Regions from separate parts of the Homo sapiens genome. Here region 1 is linked to region 2. The links are contacts of gene promoters, found by promoter capture Hi-C in human tissues and cell types (Jung and others, 2019). All regions are on one chromosome and are shown on one strand. Each heading gives the region's core, a stretch centred on a gene start or on the middle of the fragment in contact. The rest is flanking DNA. Distances are from core to core; before and after follow the strand shown.

Region 1 (6,408 bases), core at 1,290-3,789, 60 kb before region 2:
CCCAGGCTGATCTCGAACTCTTGGCCTCCAGTGATCTGCCCACCTCGGCCTCCCAAAGTGCTGGGATTACAGGCATGAGCCACTGCGCCTGGCCTTGTTTTCTTAATGTTCCTTTAAAAAAGCATCTTGTCAGTGTTCCATGAGTGTAGTATCATATTATACCTCTCTTGGGTTACTAATGATAAGTATTTTTTCTCAATGAATAGTATCATTTTCTTCAGACTGACTTTCCCTTTTTGTTTTCATTTCTATCTTTCATGCTACAGGATTTCCTCAAAGGTCTGGCAATGGCTGGTTATATGTACGCATATGATGAAAAGTGTGAGAATAAAATACTAAATGAAAATACTAAATGAATGTTATGAGTGTGTAGGGAAGCTTATAGAATTGGCGCTTCACTGTTTGCTGATCTAGGTGTACTGTTTTTAGTGGACCCTCTTCTGTCAATATCTTTAGGGTTTAAGCCTTGAGATAGTAACTTTTCCCAGAGAAAACCTGGAAATTCTGATCTCCTGGCTGAAGGGTTAATGTCTGGCTGTCAGCATTCTGGGAGGTGTCTAGGGGAAAGGAGCCAAGTGTCTTGACATGTGCCATGTAGCTGCATATATACCCAAGCCCTTAATCATGTCTGATGTTCTCCAACCTGGAGAATAAACCTCCAGATATATGCTATAGTTAGAGTGAGGGAGATGATGGATATATCTACTTCTCAAAAAGCTTTCACAAAATTCTCTTCCATTAGTCACCCCACCACACTTAACTCACAGATTACCTGTTGCTGCCAGTTTCTGAGCTTTTTGTGGATTCTGTAGTATAAATTGGGTTGGCTCTCAGCTTTCTCCACTGCCTGCAATAGTTTCTGGCTTCCTTTTATTGTTTCCTGCTATCTGCTCTCCTGTTCTCCCTGTCTGAAGATTGTTTAAAAAAACACTTTTTATAATTTTCCTGTGGTTTCAGAAGAAAGATTAAAGATATGTGTATTCAGTCAGCCATGTTAGCCTAGAATTCTCTATTTTCATGTTTATTTTTTCCACCTATAATAATAAATTGTTGTGATAGAACATTTAGAGATGCAGAAAGAGCATAAAGATTAAAATAATAATCCCCTACAGTCCCATCTTTTTGACTGAACTGGTGTTGACCTTCTGTTATGTTTCCAGTCTTTTTTTCTGTGCGTGTAAATTATGATGCCACATAATGTATACATTTTTTTCCAGCTTTATTCACTTAATGTGTCGTTAAATGTTAAGTCTCAATATTTTAGGTAATCATTGGAAATTCTCTGATGCCATTTTTAACAACCACAGGTATTCTCTTGTATTGATGATAATAATTCACCCTTATATAGTACTTAACTATATGTCAGATATTGTTCCAAATGCTATGCAAATACTAACATATTTAATCTTCCCATCAACACTATGAGGTAGATATTATTGTTGTTATCCCATTTTGCAGATGAGGAAATAAGGCACAGAGTAGTATAGTAACTTGCCCATGGTCATTCAGCTAGTAAGTGGTAGAGTCAGAATTCAGATTCGGCTGGGCGTGGTGGCTCACACCTGTAATCCCAGCAGTTTGGTAGGCCGAGGTGGGTGGATCAGGGATTGAGCCCAGAAGTTTCAAACCAGCCTGGGCAACGTGGCAAAACCCTGTTTTTACAAAAAATACAAAAAAATTAGCCGAGTGTGGTGGCATGCGCCTATAGTCTCAGCTACTTGAGAGGCTGAGGCAAGACAGTCGCTTGAGCACAGGATGGGGAGGTTGCAGTGAGCTGAGACTGCGCCACTGCACTCCAGCCTGTGCGTAAGAGTGAGACCTTGTCTCAAATAAATAAATAAGAATTCAAATTTAAGCAGTCTGGCTTGAGTGTCTATTCTCTTAATCATGATACCAGACAATGCTTCTATATTTGTGCAATCATTTATTTTTTATGCATTGTTAGAAAATTTAGGTTGTTTGTATTTTACATTAATTATAGATTATGCGTGGACAAGTGTCTTTTTGTGTCAGGTTTTGTGCACTTCAGTTTATTTGCTATTGTCCTTCTACATCCTTTCATGTTCCTGTCCCATATCTCTTCCTTTCTAATCATCTCTCTTTATTTTTATGACCCATTCCTCTTAATACTGGCAGTTTGGATCTCTCTTTTGAAAAGCATTCCTGAAAGTTGACAGATGACCTTTCTTCTTGTCAAATTCATTGCATTCATTCCTAGTCTCCTTGATCAGTCTGTAACACTTGACAGACTATTAGTTACACTCATTTTTTTTTCTTTTGAGATGGAGTTTTGCTCTTGTTGCCCAGGCTGGAGTGCAATGGTGGGATTTTGGTTCACTGCAATCTCCGCCTCTCAGGTTCAAGAGATTCTCCTGCCTCAGTCTCCCGAGTAGCTGGGATTACAGGCATGCGCCACCACGCCCGGCTAATTTTGTATTTTTAGTAGAGATGAGGTTTCACCATGTTGATCAGGCTGGTCTTGAACTCCTGACCTCAGGTGATCTGCCTGCCTCGGCTTCCCAAAGTGCTGGGATTATAGGCGTGAGCCACCGTGCCTGGCCAGCTACACTTATCTTTATGAAAAGTTCTTCTCTTTCACTATTCTTGTCATTGTAGGCTTCTAGTTCTTTCACCTCTTTTTTCCTTCTCTTAACTCCCTTCTGTCATCCTCCTATCAAATGTGAACCTTCTTCCTAGTTATATCCTCACCTGTGGGTTCTTCTTTCCTTCCTCTCCCTCTCTTTCTCCTTCTCTTCCTCCACCTTCTTCCTCTCTCCTCTTCCTCTTTTTCTTGATTTCTGCATTCTCTCTCCTTGAGTGATGGCATCCATTTTCATAATCAGTTTCAAGTACTATGTCTTTATAACTGAATTTATTTATTTCTATTTGTCAAACAAGTTCTCTCACATGAAGTTCTTGTTTTTGTTTATATTATCACCACTGTTTTGGTCACGTAGGCTAAAAACCGTATTCATTCTTAGTTTTACCCTTACTCTTTATTCTTCTAAAACATTTATATATCATTCACATACCATAAAATTCACCCTTGAAAAGCCTACAATTCACTGGTTTTCAGTATAGTCACAAAGTTATGAAACTGTCACCAGTATCCTAATTCCAGAACATTTCATGACCCTCAAAAGAAACCCTGTTCATGAGAACACATGGACACAGGAAAAGGAACAACACACACTTGGGCCTGTTGGGGGATGGGGTTGGGGGAGGGAGAGCATTAGGAAAAATAGCTAATGCATGCTGGGTTTAATACCTAGGTGATGGGCTGATAGGTGCATCAAACCACCATGGCACATGTTTACTTATGTAACAAACCTGCACATATACCCTGGAACTTTAAATAAAAATAAAAAAAGAAACCCTGTTCTTATTAGCAGACACTCCCCGTTTTCCCATCCCCTTGGCTGTGAATTTACTAATCTATTTTCTATCTCTATGGACTTGCCTATTCTGGGCACTTAATATAAATGAATCATGAAGCATGTGATATTTTGTGTCTGACTTCTTTCACTTAGGTAATGTTTTCAAAGTTCATTCATATTGTAGCATGTATCAGTACTTCATTCCTTTTTATGATTGAATAATATTCCTTTGTTTGGATGTACCACCTTTTGTTTGATGGACATCTGGGCTATTTTTACCTTTTGGATATTTTGAATTATACTGCTATAAACATTTTTTTTTTTGAGACGGAATCTCGCTCTGTTGCCTAGGCTGGAGTGCTGTGGTGCAACCTCTGCCTCCTGGGTTCAAGTGATTCTCCTGCCTCAGCCTCCTGAATAGCTGGGACTATAGGCACATGCCATCATGTCTGGCTAATTTTTGTATTTTTAGTAGAGACAGGGTTCACTGTGTTGGCCAGGCTGGTCTCAAACTCCTGACCTTGTGATCTGCCCACCTTGTCCTCTCAAAGTGCTGGTGTTACAGGAGTGAGCCACCGCGCCCAGCCTATAAACATTTTTGTACAATGTTTTGAGTGAATATATGCTTTCAGTTCTACTGTATGTATACCTATGAGTGAAATCACTGGGTCATATGGTAGCTTTATGTTTATTATTTTGAGAAACTGTCAGCCTGTTTTCAAACCTGGCTGCACCATTTACATCCCTATCAGTAATGTATTAGGGTTCCAGTTTCTTCGTACCCTCACCAACACTTGTTACTATCCTTTCTTTTATTTCTTTCTTTTTTTTATTATAGCCACCTAGTGGGTGTGAAGTGTTATTTTAGTTTTTTAAAAAATTTAGAAATTTATTCTGTTTAATCCACAAGCTTTATATAGCTTTAGTTTAAAAAAAAAAAACGAAAAAACATCAAAACAAAAACAGTGAAACCAAGACACTATTCCAAAGTCTGGACCCTTCCAGCCTTCCAAATACAAGAGCTCTGAAAGTTGTATATACCGATTGGAAGAACAAGAGAAAAATATGAACAGAGCCATGACATTTCATTAAACAAAATTGTATGTAACTGAAGGATCCTTCCTGGGACTAGCTCATTGCCTTTACAAAAGATAAAACAAAAACAGAAAACCAGAAGAATAAAATGAGAGTCCAGTGTTCCAAATCAACTAGATACACATCAATATAAATCCACAGTGTCCTGGCAAACAGCATGCTTTCATTTTCTGTCTCATCCTAGAGCTCGAATCCTGATTCATCTCAGCAGAGACTCCACAGGCAACAGGAAAGATTATGGCATTGAAATACTCATTTATACTTTTATGGTAGTTCAAAATGGTGGTCTTATTTCTGGGCAAGCTTACAGACCATACAAGGTCAGAAGCATAACTTAAACGGGTGCTAAGACTCAAATGAAAAAAATGTAAAGAAAAAGAAAAACAGAAAACCAAAACCAAACCAAACAAAAAAAAAACCCTCTGGGAATAGCCAGGGCATTTAAAGGAACCATAAAAATGCTAATAGTATTTAAACCTCCCTTTTTAAAAAGGGGATTTTTTTTGGCTTAAAATATTTCACTCTGAATGAATTATGTCAACTGTCAATGAAAGAATGTTGCTAATACAGTGTGGACAACTTTTGCAATGTAAATCCATGCCCCTTGTTTTTACATGGTGAACTTCAACCTAGCAATTATTACAACAAATGTTAGAGTCTAAAGCTCAAACACATTTTAGCAATTTTGAAATTGAACTGCCTACAAACCAAATAAAATTTACATCACAACAAACATTTCCGCCTGACTGTGGGGACACTTGGGCCTTCCTCATTGATCTCAGGACCTTTTCACACAGGTGCTTTTCTTTTTTATTTTTATTTTTCGGAGACGGAGTCTCACTCTTGCCCAGGCTGGAGGGCAGTGGCGCGATCTCAGCTTACTGCAACCTCCGCCTCCTGGATTCACACCATTCTCCTGCCTCAGCCTCCCAAGTAGCTGGGACTACAGGTGCCCGCCACCACGCCTGGCTAATTTTTTTGTATTTTTAGTAGAGATGGGGCTTCACTGTGTTAGCCAGGATGGTGTCGATCTCCTGACCTCGTGATCCACCCGCCTCGGCCTCCCAAAGTACTGGGATTACAGGCATGAGCCACCGTGCCTGGCCAACGCAGGTGCTTTTCTAAGTCATGAAGGTTATCTTCAGCTTCACTTTCAGTATCCTCCTTCGGCTCTGGCGCTGCCACTGGTTCTTCCTGTGATAATGTGGTTGTGGCAGCTGCAGTGGCTGCAGGGGTCGCAGTGGCTGCAGCCACAGCCTTTTCCTTGTGTTTTTTGTGCTGCTTGTGCTTATCCTTTTGGTGTTTCTTGTCCTTTTTTTTTTAAATATATGATGCAATTTTATTACCATTTTTTCTATATAAGTGACACAAAATTTAGACCGATAAAAACAATTTCTTCCATGAAATTTCAACAGCTGAGCTGTGTTGGGAAGAGCTAAACTGCTTGATGTCGGAGTTTTTTTTTTTTAATTATTTAAGTTCTAGGGTACATGTGCACAACGTGCAGATTTGTTACATATGTATACATGTGCCATGTTGGTGTGCTGCACCCATTAACTCGTCATTTACATTAGGTATATCTCCTAATGCTATCCCTCCCCCCTCCCCCCACCCCACAACAGGCCCTGGTGTGTGATGTTCCCCACCCTGTGTCCAAGTGTTCTCATTGTTCAATTCCCACCTATGAGTGAGAACATGCGGTGTTTGGTTTTTTGTCCTTGCGATAGTTTGCTGAGAATTATGGTTTCCAGCTTCATCCATGTCCCTGCAAAGGACATGAACTCATCATTTTTTATGGCTGCATAGTATTCCATGGTGTATATGTGCCACATTTTCTTAATCTAGCCTATCACTGTTGGACATTTGGGTTGGTTCCAGGTTTTTGCTATTGTGAATAGTGCTGCAATAAACATACGTGTGCATGTGTTTTTATAGC
Region 2 (6,308 bases), core at 734-3,233:
TCTCTCACACTGTCTCTGGCTCCGGGGAGTTTTGGTCGCTAGCGCTAGCGCATGCGCGTGCGCTCTCTGTTTCTGTCTGTTTACGACCGTCAGTTTCTGTCTCTTCTCCAGTGTCTCTCGCTAGCGCACTTTTTTTCTTTATCTCTCGGGTTGTGTGTCTGTATGTGTCTCACCGTTTCCTGATTCTTTCTCATCCTTGTCTCTCACTTATGTCTGTCTCTGTTTCTCCGTCTCTCGATAGCACGTGCACGCTGTCTCTTTCCTGTTACTCTCATTTATCTCTTCCACTCTGTTTGTCACTCAGTCTCTCTGTGTGTGTCTCTTTCGCTAGCGCACTTTCTCTGCAGGGCTTGCGCTCTCGCTCCCTATCTTTCTCACAGTCTTGCCCGTCTCTCCCTCAGTCTCTTTCTGATCCATTCTGTCTCTCTGTGTCTCTGCCTGTCACTGTGTCGCTCGCTAGTTCATGTGTGTCTCCGTCTTTCCCTAGTGCTCTCTTGTCTCTCCATTTCTCTCTCAGTCTATTTCCCCAGCAGTTCATCTTTGTGGGTCCCTAGCGCACCTGTTCAATGTCGTTCGCTGTGTCTCTGCCCGTCTCCGTGTCTCTCCAACTCTCTTGTTTCTGCGTCTCCCTCGGGTTCTCTGGGTGTCTCCTTCTGTCTCTCACTGGCACGTGTGCGCTTGCTCTGTCTTTCTCGGACCCTCTTGTCTCTGTGTCTCTCCGTGTGGTTTCTGTCTCTCCCTGCCTAAGTTCTCTCTGCATTACTCTGCCTCTCTCTCCATTGATCTCTAACACTCTACTGCTTGTCTCACCTGTCTCTCAAGCTATCTCTTTAGTGTGTGCACTCTCTCGTTGGTTTCTCTGTCCTTCACTTTCCTGTCACCCCAGGACTCTGGCTAAACACTTGCTTTGTATCTTTGAGTGTGTGCGCATCTCTATTTCTCTACATCTTTTTCCCATGGCCCCTCACCTTGGTTTTTCTCTGGCTGGATCTCTGTCTCTTTGGATCTCTGTCTCCCTGTGGACTTTATTTTGCCGTGGAAACCACCTGCCGCCCCGGCCACCGCGGGCTTTGGTTAAAAAACCCTTAGTTTATCAGCAGTGCAATGGAGACTGGAAAATGCAGAGAGGATGCCTATTGAGCTCCCCTACCCTCACCCTCCACAGCCCCATCCCCATTCCCAATTTGGCATCCTCTTTGCTTTCTCCGGATCTGCTTGGTGTCGGTGACAGCCGAGGGGAGTGGGAAAGGAGCTGGGGAGAAAGGCAAAAGAGGCAGGGGTGCAGGGTGGTGGAGAGAGTCAGAAAGGCAGGGCGAGAGAGACTGAGAGGCAGAGAGACAAAAAGGAAATGAGAGACAGCGAAAGAATGAGATACATACAGAGAGACAGAGAGAATGTGAGCAACAGAGAGGGAGAAAGAAAGAAAAAAGAAGAAATGGGAGCGTGAGAGTGAGAGAGAATGAGAGAGCAAGACAGACTGGGAGAGACGCAGACAGAAAAAGCAAAAAATAATAAGAAAAGAGAACAAGCAGAGGAAGAGGGAAAGGATGAGGAAAAAACGAGAGAATGGAGAGGAAGGGGGAAAAGAACGCACGAGAAAAAGTGAGAGAGAAAACGCGAGGGCGGGAGGATGGCTAGGGAAAGGCGAGAAGGGGCCGCACCGCGGGCCACCGCGCCTGGTAGCTCAGCAGCCGTCGGGACGCTTCAGAGGGGGCGTCGTGGGCTCCCAGGCTCGGGGCCCTGCCGGGTGCTGGGGGCCACGGAGCCCGGAGTAGGGCCGGGCTGCTTACCTGTTGCTGCTGCAGACGTGGCGTCGCGGGCGCCGCGTGCAGGTCCTTCGGGGCTCCTCGCGCTCGTCCCGGCCGCCTCTCGGGGCTCGGGCGGCTGCGAGCTGGCACGGGGCAGCGGGCGCTGCGGGCGCGGCAGGAGCGGGGCACAGCGTCTGTGCCCGCACGTCCGGCCAGCGCGCCGCGCTGCAAGCTCTGAGAGGCAGCGGGGGCGCGCGGCGTCTTAAGGCAGCGCGGTGCCCTCACCTTGCGGTGCCGCCCTCCCCTCGGCCCCCGCCTGCGCCCGTGACGCACGAGGCCGCCGCAGCCCAGGGAGCGGGGCTGGCAGGTGGGGGGCCGTGCACCAGACCCCACTCAGATTTTCTCACTCCGGGTTCCCACCCCTGGGGCCCCGAGTCCACCGAGAGCTCACAGACTGGGGATTGTCACCGGGGCTGATTTTCGTGCAAACCCCGTGCCTTCCTAGCCCCCTGATTTCGGGCCAGCTCCCAGGCACAGACCCTGCACTATCCTTCCGATTCTTCCAAATAGGAGGGCCCGGGACTCCCCTCGACTTCTGAAAACCCTCCAAAGTATGAATAGCCCCTGAGCCCGAGAAAGGAATCGTGACTTTAATGTCAACGATTTTCCACGAATTTCTCTAGCTCCCAGGAAGAGCTAAGCGGCAGTGCTTTCCCTGTGGGATTTGGAAGCATTTCATTTAAGACAAGCCACATAATTACCCACTATATTCTTTGATTGAAGTATGTCTGTCTGTAAGTCAGTCAGCATCTCTCCCTCTCTCCCTCTTTCTCCCCCTCTCTCTGCCAGGTACTGTGTTAAACTGTTTACACAGAGAATACCGCTGAATCTTTACCCCAGCCTTGTGAGATAAGTACCGCTATTATCTTCATTTTATAGAGACAGAAGCAGAAGCCAAGAAAGATTACCCTACTTGCCTAAGTTCAAGTAAATATTGCACACGTTCTATTAGCCAAGACATTCTGGTCTCTCCTAAACACATACTGGGTATTTGTTGTATATCAGGACTGAGGAGGCCCCCTCTTCCCTGCCCCCAGAAGGTAGGGAAGGTGACCCAGACCAGGGATCATTTGCATTAGATTTCCAAGGGATTAGGAGGTGTTTTCTAGGCAGGGCACAAGGGGAAATGTGTTCTGTAAAAAGAAGATGCATGGGGTAAAACTAGGGCTGCAAGAGAGACTTGAGTTCCAAAGGCTGGGAAAACAGGCTGCAGCATGGTGAGTGCCAGGAGGTTAGCTGGTTAAACTGGGTAGAGACAAATCCTGAGGGGTCTTGAATGCCAGTCTGCAGACTTCGGACTTTACCCTGAGATCCCTGGAGGTCGTCGGAGAGTCGTTTTATTATGAAAGACTTCAAGCATACACAAACGTAATGAGAATAATAAAATAATCCTCCATGTTCCTATTACCCAGCCTTCACAAGGGTAAATAATTTGCCATTCTTGTTCATTGGTGGGTTTTAGGTAGGGCGATATTCTAAAATCAGGGCTGGTGTTGGATGGAGAAAGCTGAAGGGAGGCTGTGGCAGGAGACAAAGAGGGTCTTGACAGGTCCAACAGAGCGGGGCAAGCAGAGACCTACAGAGAGGCAAATTGACAGGGAATAAGGGCAAGGAGGTGTTGGGGAGGGTCTAGAATGAGCACAGGGTTTGGAGTTGGTTGATGGGCTGGATGGAGATACCTCCTCCCCTTCTCGTCACCTGCCTCTGAGACAGGGAGATGAGACAGGTGTATAATCGGGCCTCAAGAATGCTCTTTGGATCTGGAGTCCTGCATTTGCTCTTAGATCATTTGTCCTTTTTCTGCTATGCCTGATTTTATCTCCCCAAGGTTGAATGGTAAAAACCTGGTCATTTTTCCTAGAGACAGTTTCCGTGATAATCACTCACAGTTATTATTAATTCCTAGCTTCGTGCTGGCCATGGTACAGAATCCTGGGTGGCATGCACTGTCAAGCGGTAGTTTGTTCAGACTCAATGATTTTACAATCACTTGGGAGGCAGTGAAGCTGCTAGAAGTGGCCAGAGACAAAGGCCAGTCTTTCTTGACCTTTCCTATTTTTATTGTGGTTGTGACCATGCCCGAGACTGCTAGGTTCCAGCAGGGGACCCTCTAGACACATGTTAAAGATTGGTGCCTCAGAGGGATGGGCTCATGGAGTCTGCAGCTGCACTTTTGGGCACGAAGGGGGATAATAGGGAGTGGAAGGGGTTGGGTGGGATGAGGCCTCTGCAACTGAGACAAGCCTGCCAGCCGGAGATAGGAAAAAAGCCAGAGAAGTGCTAGGAAATAAATACCAGCTATTTTTCTGTATAGGGAGATGTTTGAGGGTGGTTAATCCTCCGGTGTCTTCTCTTTCCCTCCAGATGTGAGCAGAGTAGGTATTCTTGGATTTCAAAGACATCCAAATATCAGTTCCCCAACTGGAAGTATGTGGTGGAGCTTTGGGGAATGTGGATTTGGCTTCCAGCCCTGCAGGCTCTGATTCTGATAGCCTTGAAGGAGCCCTTCAACTGACAAGCCTCATTACATTCTGGGGAGAGTCTTTGGGATGAAACAGGGAGACTTTGGGATGATGGCTTAAGAAGTCACCTAGTCCTTTTCCCTACCTTCATAATTCAGTAGCAGCAGAGGCACGATCAAGCTGATGATATTAATGGACCAGGACTAGAGGGCAAGAAGCTACCAACAAGAAAGGGCCCAAGGTCCCATTGACAATCACACGTTGCAACACTGGTCAGTAGTGTGCCGGCCTCAGGCTTGTTCACCTTGTCAGACTAATTGCCCCAATTGCTGTACCAATAGCTAGATGAGGGAAGTTGGGAAACCCAAGACTCAGCCAAGTATTAGTTCTAGTCATTCATTCTAGTAATAAACGGTGCAAGAGTCCTTGAGTGCCTACTTTATGCTTGCTGTCTTGTATTAAATCCTTGAGGAAGCTCTGCAAGTTAGGAAACAATACCGTATTTTCTGAAAGCATGACACAGTACATACCACTAGGAAATGGAAAAATGCTGAACATTTAACCATCATACCATGGCTAACAAGATACATCTTGATTTCAAAGATGCTAGAATGTGAAAAAAAATGTGCTTTAGAATCAATGTAAGACAGTATCATCCCTGTCTTTACAGAGGGGTTAAGTAACTTATCCAAGGTCACACAGCAAATAAGTTTTGGAGCTGAGAGTTAAAGCCTACTCTAACTCCAAAGCAGGGGCATTTCCTAGGCTACATCAAGGAAGAGTGCAGAGACAAGACAGAAGGGCTCCCAGACCCAGCTCAGATAAAATTTTTGAATCTAGGTGAAAGGGGACTAGGAGTTGCTAGAATTGTGAAAAGACAAGTGCATTTGCAGTGGTAATGGTTTCTTTTTGTAGGACAGACACATGGTTCCCATAGGTGGTAAAAAGACTAAATCAGTCAATCTAAGTTCTAAGTCACACTCCTTTTTGCTTAGCGAGTTCATAATAAGTCGATGGGGAAAAATATATGGTTTTGTTCTGGAGTGCCTACCCATGGGGGTGTTTTACATTTTTCAGTGTTATGTGTTACTCTGGAATTCACTTCAGGCCAACTCCTAGAAGCTGTGTTTGCAAAACTGAAACAAAATCAAGTACCACCTGGGTGTGAGCTAATATTGCACATTCTGTGGGTTTGGGCAGTACAGAAGTTCTGGATTTCAAAGCTATGTCTATCCAAATAAACTAATTTGGAAGAGAAAATCAGCAGAAAATAACTTGATGGATTAAAACTAGAGAGCAGAAGACTTGAATTCTAGCCCTAATTCTGTGGCTAACTTGCATGTAACTTTGGGAAGATCCCCTTCCTCTCTCTGATCTCACTTCTGTAATCCACCAAATGAATGTGTGTGTGTGTGGTGGGGCTAGGGGTTGGATGTTAGGTAGTCTCTAAGGATCCTGTCAGTCTATGACCTTTGATGCCATCTACTTTCTATCTGAGTGTTATTTTTAAAAACCCAAAACTAATCTGACCCAAATATTAAAAAAATTGAAAGCTGGACTCTGCTTCTGGCCATGAAAGAATAAGAGACAGGATTTACCCTTTTATCTTAAACAACTAAAAAAGTGGACAACATACATAAAATAATAGTTGTTAGACATTGGAAAATAGACAGTACAGCACAGTGATCTTCAAGAAAAGAGAAACAAATGAGGTGAGCCCTACAATTGCCTCCGTTTACTACCTAGAGAGAATTTCCAGTCCTCTGTGCAGGAAGAAAGAATCCAGGCTGAGCCTGGAAGTCCGCCTAAATTTAGGAGACAAAGTTCAGAATTCAAGGAGGTGAGGGTGGGCAGAATTTGCAGAGCAAGGTGCCAGAGGGGCACTGCACAGAAAGAGTACTCCGGAACTCTGTAAAAGATTTCCCTCAAGGCTGAATACTGATCAGCACATGCATGTAAAGTATGCAAGGTTGGGATAGAACCACTCAAAAGGAGTAGGAGGAGTGATTTGTAGAGCTCACACAAGACTGGGAATAGC

The links. The method cuts DNA at HindIII sites, captures the fragments that hold promoters and counts their contacts. A contact is called where the count stands out against the background at its distance.
Region 1: a fragment that was not itself captured here is called in contact with the fragment with the promoter of GPR101 in region 2 in 1 of the 25 tissues and cell types used here (hippocampus).

The regions. Positions count from the first base shown.
Region 1 is chrX:136,971,202-136,977,609 of GRCh38, forward strand. It overlaps the pseudogene TM9SF5P. Among named protein-coding and RNA genes, the nearest start is that of GPR101, 60 kb to the right of the region's middle. The HindIII fragment of the contact is 3,984 bases long and covers 548-4,531 here.
Region 2 is chrX:137,032,012-137,038,319 of GRCh38, forward strand. GPR101 (G protein-coupled receptor 101) reads right to left here and starts at 1,984. Exons shown (of 2, transcript NM_054021.2): 1 at 1,791-1,984. RefSeq lists an enhancer at 1-84. The HindIII fragment of the contact is 13,638 bases long and covers 1-6,308 here.